2 separate regions of the Homo sapiens genome follow, and region 1 is linked to region 2. Evidence: promoter capture Hi-C in 16 types of primary human blood cells and fetal thymus (Javierre and others, 2016). All regions are on one chromosome and are shown on one strand. The core of a region is centred on a gene start or on the middle of the fragment in contact, and the rest is flanking DNA. Distances in the headings are between cores, read along the strand shown.

The links. The method cuts DNA at HindIII sites, captures the fragments that hold promoters and counts their contacts. A CHiCAGO score of 5 or more calls a contact.
Region 1: a contact is called between a fragment that was not itself captured here and the fragment with the promoter of MRPS27 in region 2, in 1 of 17 cell types (total CD4 T cells). The highest score is 8.0, in total CD4 T cells.

What each region holds. Positions count from the first base shown.
Region 1 is chr5:65,555,782-65,560,980 of GRCh38, forward strand. The region is part of intron 2 of CENPK (centromere protein K); the gene reads right to left. Among named protein-coding and RNA genes, the nearest start is that of CENPK, 4.8 kb to the right of the region's middle. RefSeq lists an enhancer at 3,673-4,172. The HindIII fragment of the contact is 8,637 bases long and covers 1-5,199 here.
Region 2 is chr5:72,317,121-72,321,847 of GRCh38, forward strand. MRPS27 (mitochondrial ribosomal protein S27) reads right to left here and starts at 3,120. Exons shown (of 11, transcript NM_015084.3): 1 at 3,029-3,120. The coding sequence starts at 3,101. PTCD2 (pentatricopeptide repeat domain 2) reads left to right here and starts at 3,253. Exons shown (of 10, transcript NM_024754.5): 1 at 3,253-3,389. The coding sequence starts at 3,263. RefSeq lists enhancers at 2,171-2,712, 2,713-3,253, 2,852-3,181, 3,242-3,451. The HindIII fragment of the contact is 19,626 bases long and covers 1-4,727 here.

The sequences.
Region 1 (5,199 bases), core at 734-3,233, 6.8 Mb before region 2:
AAGATGGTAAAAGAAACAGATTTGGCAAACATGGGAGAAGTGCTGATTAAAAACTCAGTTTAGGATATGCTACATTTGAGGTGTCAATTATTGGAGCTGCTGATTAAGCAATTAGATATACATGTCTGCAGTTGAAAGCAAAGTTTTGAGCTAGCAATATGAATTTGACAGCCATCATCACACAGATAAGACTTACACACTACATAATGACATTTTGGTCAATCACAGACTGCACATATAACAGTGGTTCCAATGGAGCTGAAAAATTCCTATTGCCTACTGATGTCTTGATGATCCTGACCTTGCCTTAGGCCTAGGCTAATGTGTTTGTGTCTTCGTTCTTAACAAAGAAATTAAAAAAGTAAAAAATAAAAATAAATAAATTAGCTAGAAAAAAAGACATAAAATATGCCAGGTGCAGTGACTCACACCTGTAATCACAACACTTTGGGAGGCCAAGGTCGTAGGATCACTTGAGTTCAGGAGTTCCAGAACAGCCTGGCAACAAAGTAAGACCCCTATCTCTATAAAAAAATTTTAAAAATTAGCTGGGTGAGGTGGCCCAGTCCTGTAGCCCAAGCTGCTCAGGAGGCAGGGGCAGGAAGATCGCTTGAGTCCAGGAGTTCAAGGTTATAGTAAGCTATGATCACACCACTGCATTTCAGCCTGGGTGACAGAGACAAACTCTGTCTCTAAATTAGAAAATAAAAAAAGAAAGAAAATATTGTTGCACAGTTATACAACATGTTTATGTTTTAAGCTGTTTTTATGAAAGAGTTGATATGTTAAAAAATTAAAAAGATAAAGCAAAAAACTTACAGCAAGCTAAGGTTAATTTATTATTGAATAATTAAAAAAATAAATTTAGTATAGCCTAAGTGTACAGTATTTACAAAGTCTACAGTAGGGTACAGTAATGTCCTAGGCCTTCATATCTTCTCACAACTCACTGACTCATCTAGAGCAACTTCTAGTCCTATAAGCTACATTCATGGTAAAAGCCCTAGACAGGTGTTCCACTTTTTGTCTTTCATACCATTTTTTTTACTGTACCGTTTCTATGTTTAGAAATGTTTAAATACAAAAATACCATTCTGTTACAATTACCTACGGTATTCAGCCTAGGTATGTAGTAGGTTATACCATCTAGGTTTGTGCTCACATGATGAAATCATCTAACAATGCATTTCTCAACACATATCCCCGTTGTTAAGTGACACATGACTGTACTTACAGTTGTGAGGATAGGTGAAATAAGAAAAGGAAGAGTGTGCAGCTAGAAATGAGAAGATCTTCAGGCCAGGAGCTATTGAGGTAAGAACCAACTGAATAGTCTGAGAAGGAGCACTCAGTAAGTTAAGAGGAAAATCAAGAGCATGATACCCTGAAATCCAAGAATGTATTCAAGGAAGGAATGATAACTGTCAAACACTGGAGACAGGTCAAGTAAATTACAGAGAATTGACAATTTATTTAGTAATATAGAGGAGCAAACTGTTTTTTCTAAAAATACTCACAGCAATATTTCATCATTCCCCATCAAGAGACAGAGTCTTTTTCCTCTCCCCCTGAAACTGAGTGTGACTTTGTGGCTGTCTTTATAAAGAGAATACAATGAAAATGACACCACATGACTTTCAAGACTAAGTCATAAAAGGCAATATAGCTAACTTCTGGCTTTCTGTGTCTTGGAACACTCACCCTTGCAACCCAGGCACCATGTTATGCGAAAGCCCAAAGTAGCACAAAAGGAAGAGATCAACATAAAGTCCATGAGGAAAGGAACTGAGGTTCCCAGACAAACGCTGGTATCAACTCCCAGACATACACACGATCATTTCTGACAATTAAGCCCCTAGGCTTTGATCTTCTAGCCAAGGCTCCAGATACTGTGGAACAGAGAAGCTGCTCCTGCTGTGTCTTGTCTGAATTTCTAATGCACAAAACTCATGAGCGTAATAAATAGTTGTTTTACACCTCTACATTCTGGGGTAATTTATCACAACAATTTTCTTGGAGTAAACATACAAAAATGAAGGCCACAGATAACCTTCATAGGAGTAGTTTTAGAAGAATGGCAAGAATAAAAATCTGATTGGAGTGGATTCAAGAAAGAATGGAAGGCAAGGAATTAAAAATATTAAGTATATGAAACGTTTTCAAGAACGTTTTCTCTAGCCAGGCATGGCAGCACATGCCTGTATTCCAAGGTATTCAGGAGCTGAGGTGAGAGGATCACTTGAGCCCGGTGAACCCAGGAGACTGAGGCTGCAGTGAGCCACAATCACACAACTGCACTCCACCCTGGGTGACAAAGCAAGACCGTTAAGACCATACCAAAAACAAACAAACAAAACAAACAAAAAGAAAACACACACACACACATTTTTTTTTCTTTAAAGCACAAGAGAGAAATACAGTTAGTAGCTGGAGGGAGATATAGGGTTAAAAGAGACTTTTTCTTTTTTAAAGATGGGAGAAAATATAGCATCTTTATACGGTACAGTAAAAGAAGGAAATGTTGCTAATACAAGAGAGAAAGGGGAGAAGAAAGAATGGGATCTAGTACATAAGTAGAGGTGTTGGCTTAAGATAAATGGACATGCAGTTCATCCATTTTAATGGGAGGGTCATCAGAATATCAAGAGTGTAGATGCAGGTAGGTAAGTAGACGTGTTGCTAGGAACTTGTAGAAATTCTATGTGGATTGTTTCTCTTTTCTCCGTAAAATGGTAACTACGGTTATCAGCTATGAAAGGATGGGAAGAAAGTACTGCGAGTTTAAGAGCACAGGAAAAGAGATGTATAAAACAGATATATAAAAAAATGGGAGAGGATAAAGTTACAGGATTATTCAGTAGTAGCATTACAGGCTCACCTGAGATTAGTATCATGAGTTTAAAGTAAAACCAGAGCATGGTTGTATGTTTTCTTCTATGGTGTAGCACCACAGGTACAGACAGGGACAAAGTGAAAGAATGGCCATAGGAATAAGTAGCTAAGACAAGAGAGAACATAATCACTAGGGGAAAGAAGGTCAAGAAAAAGAGAGGCCAAGTTATTGGATCATCTATAAGGATATTAAAATCACTAAGAATTATGATAGTAGTACTGCAAAGGGCAATGAGCCAGGAGCTAAAAATCTTCAAGGAATGAGGGTGAGTAAAACAATCTTGCTAGATGATTCCTGCAAAGAATGGAAGAGGATTAGAGTCTGGTGGCATAAGATTCAAAACTGGGCAATTTTAAGGAGGTAGACAGTGCAATAAAGAATGATGAGGATGTCTACCCCACATCAAACGCAAATCAGAATACCCCTCCTCAATATCTTTATTCATATGGAACTTCTGCATTTTATACTGCTTAATCAATAACTTATTAACAGAGAAGTTCTAAGGCAGACCTAAATAAATGGAAAGATACTTCATATTCATGGACTGAAAGACCCACATTGTAAAGACGTTAATTCTCCCCCAAGTTGAGCTACTGAATCTTAACCAAAATCCTGAAAGTTTTTGTTTCTCTTTATGGGACTTGACAAGCAAATTGTAAAATTTACATGGAAGGGCCGGGCGCGGTGGCTCACGCCTGTAATCCCAGCACTTTGGGAGGCCGAGGCGGGCGGATCACGAGGTCAGGAGATCGAGACCATCCCGGCTAAAAGGGTGAAACCCCGTCTCTACTAAAAATACAAAAAATTAGCCGGGCGTAGTGGCGGGCGCCTGTAGTCCCAGCTACTTGGGAGGCTGAGGCAGGAGAATGGCGTGAACCCGGGAGGCGGAGCTTGCAGTGAGCCGAGATCCCGCCACTGCACTCCAGCCTGGGCGACAGAGCGAGACTCCGTCTCAGAAAAAAAAAAAAAAAAAAATTTACATGGAAGCACAAAGGGCCAAAACTAGCCTAAGATCCTCATGAAAAATAAGATGGGAGGACATACCCTACACTATTATGGCAATGTAGAACTGGCACATAAATAGGCAAATTGAGCAATGGAACACAATACAAAGCCTTTCTTGACTTTCTATATTCACATACATATGGACACATGACACATGACAGAGATGACAAGGCAAATCAAGGAGAAAAAAATAATCCAAATAGATATATATTTTATATATAATACTGTTTTTTAAATGTATATTTTGGTCCATATAAATCTTCCTCATTTTTTTTTAACATTTATAGTATTTGCGGAGAAAAAAATAAGTCTAAATTCATACCTGAATCTTTATGTCATTCCTCACTCCCTCAAAAAACCCAAAATAGAAATCACAAAAAAATAGGATGAAAACACAGAAACTTTTAAAATCTTAGATTAGGAAACACCTTTCTAAGCAAAACTAAGTAAAATCTTTACACCAAAATTTTTTTTTTAATTCTGCATGGACAAACATCTCATCAACAAAGTTAAAATTTAAAACCCCCAAACCTAGGAGAAATACTTGTAATATATATGGCAACCCAAGACCTAATTTCCTTAATATATAACAAGTGCCTACAAATTCATAAGAAGAAACCAAACAACTCACCATTAAAAAAAATTTAAAAAAGATTACCAAAAAAGTCAGGTTACCAATTACTTTGGAGGAAGAGTGGAAGGGGGAAAAGGGTTGTGGCTGGGATGGGCCAAATGGAGAGATTTCTGAGGTAATTATCAAAGTTTTATTTTTTGACTAGCATGATGGTAAGGGTGTTCACCTCATAATAATTAGTAAACTTTACGTTTATTTTGTGTCTGCATTTTTACAATAAAAAGGTAAACAACAAAAACAATTCAATAGAAACTGGCAAAGAACACAAATGAGGAATTCAAAGAAAAAACAAATACCTTTTAAATACAGAAAAAGTACATTCATAAGCTCATATATAATTTATGAAAATCCAAATTAAACAAGCATTAATTTTCATTCAGAATGGCAATAATGTAAAATTGGTAAGAGATAATACTGGCAAGCATGTGAAATAAGAGGCTTGCACTGTTGGTGGAACAATCACTTTGTATGATAATATCCATCAAAATTTTACATGCATTTCTTGTGATCCAGAAGTTCTATTCTTAGGAATAATCCTAAAGATAGATATGTCTGCATAAGTCTATACAATTATGTTTACTGGCACATTACTTAGAGAAAAAAAAACTTTAAAGGTATGAACTCTGCAACCAGACTATACAGGTTTAAATCTGTTTTGATATTTAAA
Region 2 (4,727 bases), core at 1,870-4,369:
GCTGATTAAACACAGTATTGGAATGCTGTTTTTATTCTCTACCTACTTTCCAGCTCAAACAAATAAACAAATACAAACACATCTGTGTGAATTTATACACAGTTCATTCTCTTACTGTGAACACAGATCTTTACTAGAATAATATATCTAAATTTGAGTTCTACAAATTAAATAATGAGGCAACAATAAGGTTTCCAAAGACGCTTTCAAAAGGAGAACTAAGAAAAGACTATAATTATTTAAATTAATTTCCATTTATTTTTTCGTTTTGGAAATGGAGTTTCGCTCTTGTTGCCCAGGCTGGAGTGCAATGGCATGATCTCAGCTCACTGCAACCGGAAGGCGGAGGCCTTCCAGGTTCAAGCGATTCTCCTGCCTCAGCCTCCTGAGTAGCTGGGATTTCAGGCATGCGCCACCACGCCTAATTTTGTATTTTTAATAGAGACAGGGTTTCTCCATGTTGGCCAGGCTGGTCTCAAACTCCTGACCTCAGGTGATCCACCCACCTCAGCCTCCCAAAGTGCTGGGATTACAGGTGTGAGCCACCACACCCGGCCTAATTTTATTTATTATTATTATTTTTTTGAGATGGAGTATCTCTCTGTTGCCCAGGCTGGAGTGTAGTGGCATGATCTTGGCTCACTGCAACCTTTGCCTCCAGGGTTCAAGCAATTCTCCTGCCCCAGGGGGATGGTTCTAGAATACCCCCTCAAATACCAAAATCTGAGAATGCAGAAGTCTCTTACATAAAATTGCACAGTATTTGCAAATAACCCACAAACATCCTCCTGCATTACTTTAAGCTGGGGTGTCCATTTTTTTGGCTTCCCTGGTCACATTGGAAGAAGAACAATTGTCTTGGGCCACACATACATAAACTACACTAACACTAATGATAGCTGATGGGCAAACAAACAAAACAAAAAATGCTAAAAATCTCCTAATATTTTAGTTAAGTTTACAAATTTGTGTTGGGCCACATTCAAAACTGTCCTGGGCTGAGGGTTGGACAAGCTGCTTTAAGTCATTTGTAGATTACTTATAATACCTAACACAATGTAAACGCAATGTAAGTGGTTGTCATGTTGTATTTTCTTTGTATTATTTTACTGTTGTATTATTTTTTATTGTTAGTTTTTGTTTTGTTTTGTAGTATTTTGATCCGCTGTTGGTTGACTCTGCAGATGCAGAATGCTCGGATAAGGAAGCCAACTGTACTCCCGCATACCAGCTACTTGCTTACTCTCTATTTATTATCTGTTATTCTCTATGCCTTCATTCTAGCATATGCTTCATTCTAGCATAAGTAATCACCTTTCTACATTCTGGAGTCAGGACAATATCTAGATCATTGCTCAAGAGTTCTGAACTGGGAGATTAAAAAGCTGGGCCAGCTGGGCACAGTGGCTCACGCCCGTAATCCCAGCACCTTGGGAAGTAGAGGCGGGTGGATCACCTGAGGTCAGGAGTTAGAGACCAGCCTGACCAACATGGAGAAACCCCGTCTCTACTGAAAATACAAAATTAGCCGGGAGTGGTGGCGCATGCCTGTAATCTCAGCTACTCGGGAGGCTGAGGCAGGAGAATCACTTGAACCCGGGAGGCAGAGGCTGCAGTAAGCCGAGATCGTGCCATTGCACTCTAACCTGGGCAACAAGAACGAAACCCGAAAAAAAAAAAAAAGGCTGGGGAGGTGATTGTGGGGAAAGACAGGTCTCCCAAAATGCCCTCTGTGTGTAGTTGTTCACGGAAACCACATAAACAGAAAATAGCTACAACAGCTAATTCTTACTAAGGTGTCAAGCGTTGTGCATAACACTGCCTAATGTGTGACATTAAACGTTTTCACCAGGTCAGCCACTTAATCTTCAGAAAACTGGTGGCCAACTCTGAGGTTTCACATTGACGTTTAATGGCTGTTCCTAAAGAAGTGCGTGCTTTTTAAAAAAATAGAGGATGGGAGGTAGGTTGGAAAGGGAAGATAAGCGGCAATGGAAAAATCGAGTGTGATTATTGCATTTTTATCAAATATGTCTGTCTGGATTATGTGGTTAGAATCACTGCAAATTTGGCTTCTATAAATACTTTAAAACTTTTTTCCAATGTTTTCATTATCAGATCCACTATGCAGGCTTTGAGTGGGCTGCCATTTAGTTCAGATATCAAAGTATTTTACAAGTAACTAATAGCATTTATTATCTACACGTGGAAAACTATAGCAAAGAAAGGTCAATCAAAAGTTGTGCTCTAGGTCATCAGATAAAATGAGATTAATACTGAAAAATTCTTCCACGAAGACCAGGGGTCCAGCTAAATGTGTGGTGGTGGGAAAAATGTTTATCTGACGTCCCTCTAAAGAAACCTCAGATGGGAGAAAAATGTCCCAGCCCCAGGAATGGACACATTTAGGTTTTTCCTTTTTTTTTTTTTTTTTTTTTTTTGAGACAGGGTCTCGCTCTGTTGCCCAGGCTGGAGTGTAGTGGCGCGATCTCTGCTCACTGCAACCTCCGCCTCCCGAGTTCAAGCGATTATCCTGCCTCAGCCCCCCGAGTAGCTGGGATTACAGGCGCGCGCCACCAGGCCCAGATAATTTCTTTGTATTTTTTAGTAGAGATGGGGTTTCGCCCTGTTGGCCAGGCTGGTCTCGAACTCCTGGCGATCCGCCCGCCTCGCGTTCCCAAAGTGCTGGGACCACAGGCGTGGGCCACCGCGCCCGGCGCACATTTGGGTTTTTCGTGGTCAGCAAAAGCACGACCACCCCAACACATAAATCTGGCGAATCATACGCAAATTCCCTCATGCTATATAACCTTCCACTGCTCTTCGTACCTTTGGACAGGAACATACTGTTATTTTAGGGAAGGAAATGGATCAGATACCTTGTCTCCTTCTTCTGCACTACCAAACACCCCAAATGGCGTCCCTAGCAATCAGATTCCAGAAACGTTTCCTCTCCTCTTGAAAGCCCACCGCTCCCTTCACCCAAAAAACAGAATAATCAGGGGCCTAATGAAGCTGTCCGGCCAACCTGCAGGAGAGAGCTGAGGAAGAACCACTTGCCGCGCCAGGAGCATCCCGCGCCGCACTATGGAGGCAGCCATCTTGGAGCGTACCAAAAGGAACAGCCAACGGGTTACGGACAGAGGAAGGGGCGGGGTTACAGCTCGACCTCTCGGGGCGCCCAGAATTGGACGAATCCCTTTTGTCGCTCTCGACGACAGGACCGACGCTCCGCCTCCTCGCCCCGGTTCCAGTAGTTGGTATGGTCCGAGACAGTATGGCTGCTGCATTTCGGCCCTCGAATCGAGTTCTCCTGCAGGCGCTGCAGATTTTGGTGTATCCTGGGGTGGGAGGCTCCGGCTCTGTCAGCTGCCGCTGCCCTCTCGGAGGTATCCGCGGCTTTAGCCTAGGGAAGGAGGGGAGGGATGGGAGAGAAGGGAGTGTTAGATCCCAGCTAGCATCTCTGTGGAGCAGCCACAGCTCCTAAGTCACTCACTGGCCTGGAGCGCACCCTCGCCCTCTAGTTGCACGTGGGTGCAGTGGTGACCACTGGGGGTCGTGGATACCCCCAGTGCCTGCAAATCGAAGGACTGCTGGGGTATTGACCTTGGGGCTGTAGTGCTCCCTCAGATGGGGCGACGTTCGTCTTCAGGAACATCCCTCCCGCCTTGGGTGACTTTTATTTATTTATTTATTTATTTTTGAGACGAAGTCTTGCTCTGTCGCCCAAGCTGGAGTGCGGTGGCGCGATCTCGGCTCACTGCAGCCTCCGCCTCCCGGGTTCAAGCGATTCTCCTGCCTCAGCTTTCCGAGTAGTTGGGACTACAGGCGTGCGCCACCACGCCCGGGTAATTTTTTGTATTTTTAGTAGAGACGGGTTTCACTATGTTGGCCAGGCTGGTTTCGAACTCCTGACCTCGTGGTCCACCCGCCTCGGCCTCCCAAAGTGCTGGGATTATAGGAGTGAGCCACCGCGCCCGGCCTTTTTCTTTTCTGCAGAGTTTGGAAGCAGAGGTCTTATGGAGTCTCAGTTCTGCTAACAATCTAAAAGACTTAACGGCACGTTTCTTCATTTTTCAAAACTATCCTCTAACATCTCTATGAAGAGAGTTAAATCTGAAGATGCTAGTGAGTGATAGTAAAAATGTTTGTCAGGCATTACTTTAATGTAGTTTACATACATTAATTCCTTTTCTCTAGACAACACCCAGCAAGAGAAGTACCATTCTTTTCTCCATTTACAGAGGAGGAACAAGGTTAAGTAATTTGCCCAAAGTCAGAGGGAACTGTTAGAGGTGGGATTTGAACACACCCAACAATAGAAACCTGCTCCTAACCACTTCACTGGACTGCCTTTCTGTAAATAAATAGCAACTTTTATTGTTACCTTGTTACTGCAGCTCACAGAACTCTGTTAGTGCGTGATTCTTCGGCCACGCTTGGTCCGTTTTATCTCATGCACAGCCAAGGATCCTAAAGAAAGGATGATGTTTCCCAAATCTACTAAGCTGTGATCAATGATTTCCATGTATCTCAAATGTATTTTGAGTCCACATCTGAGAGGCCTTAACCCCCTCATTTCACAGAGGACAAAACTGGGAGTTCCAGTGGTCATGCTGCAGCTTTTTCCACTACACTGTGCTTCTCCCTGGATAAACCAAAACTAAATATGCCTGTTTTGCATTTAAATGTTATTAGTTTTTTTTTTAAATGCCCTTGATACCCTT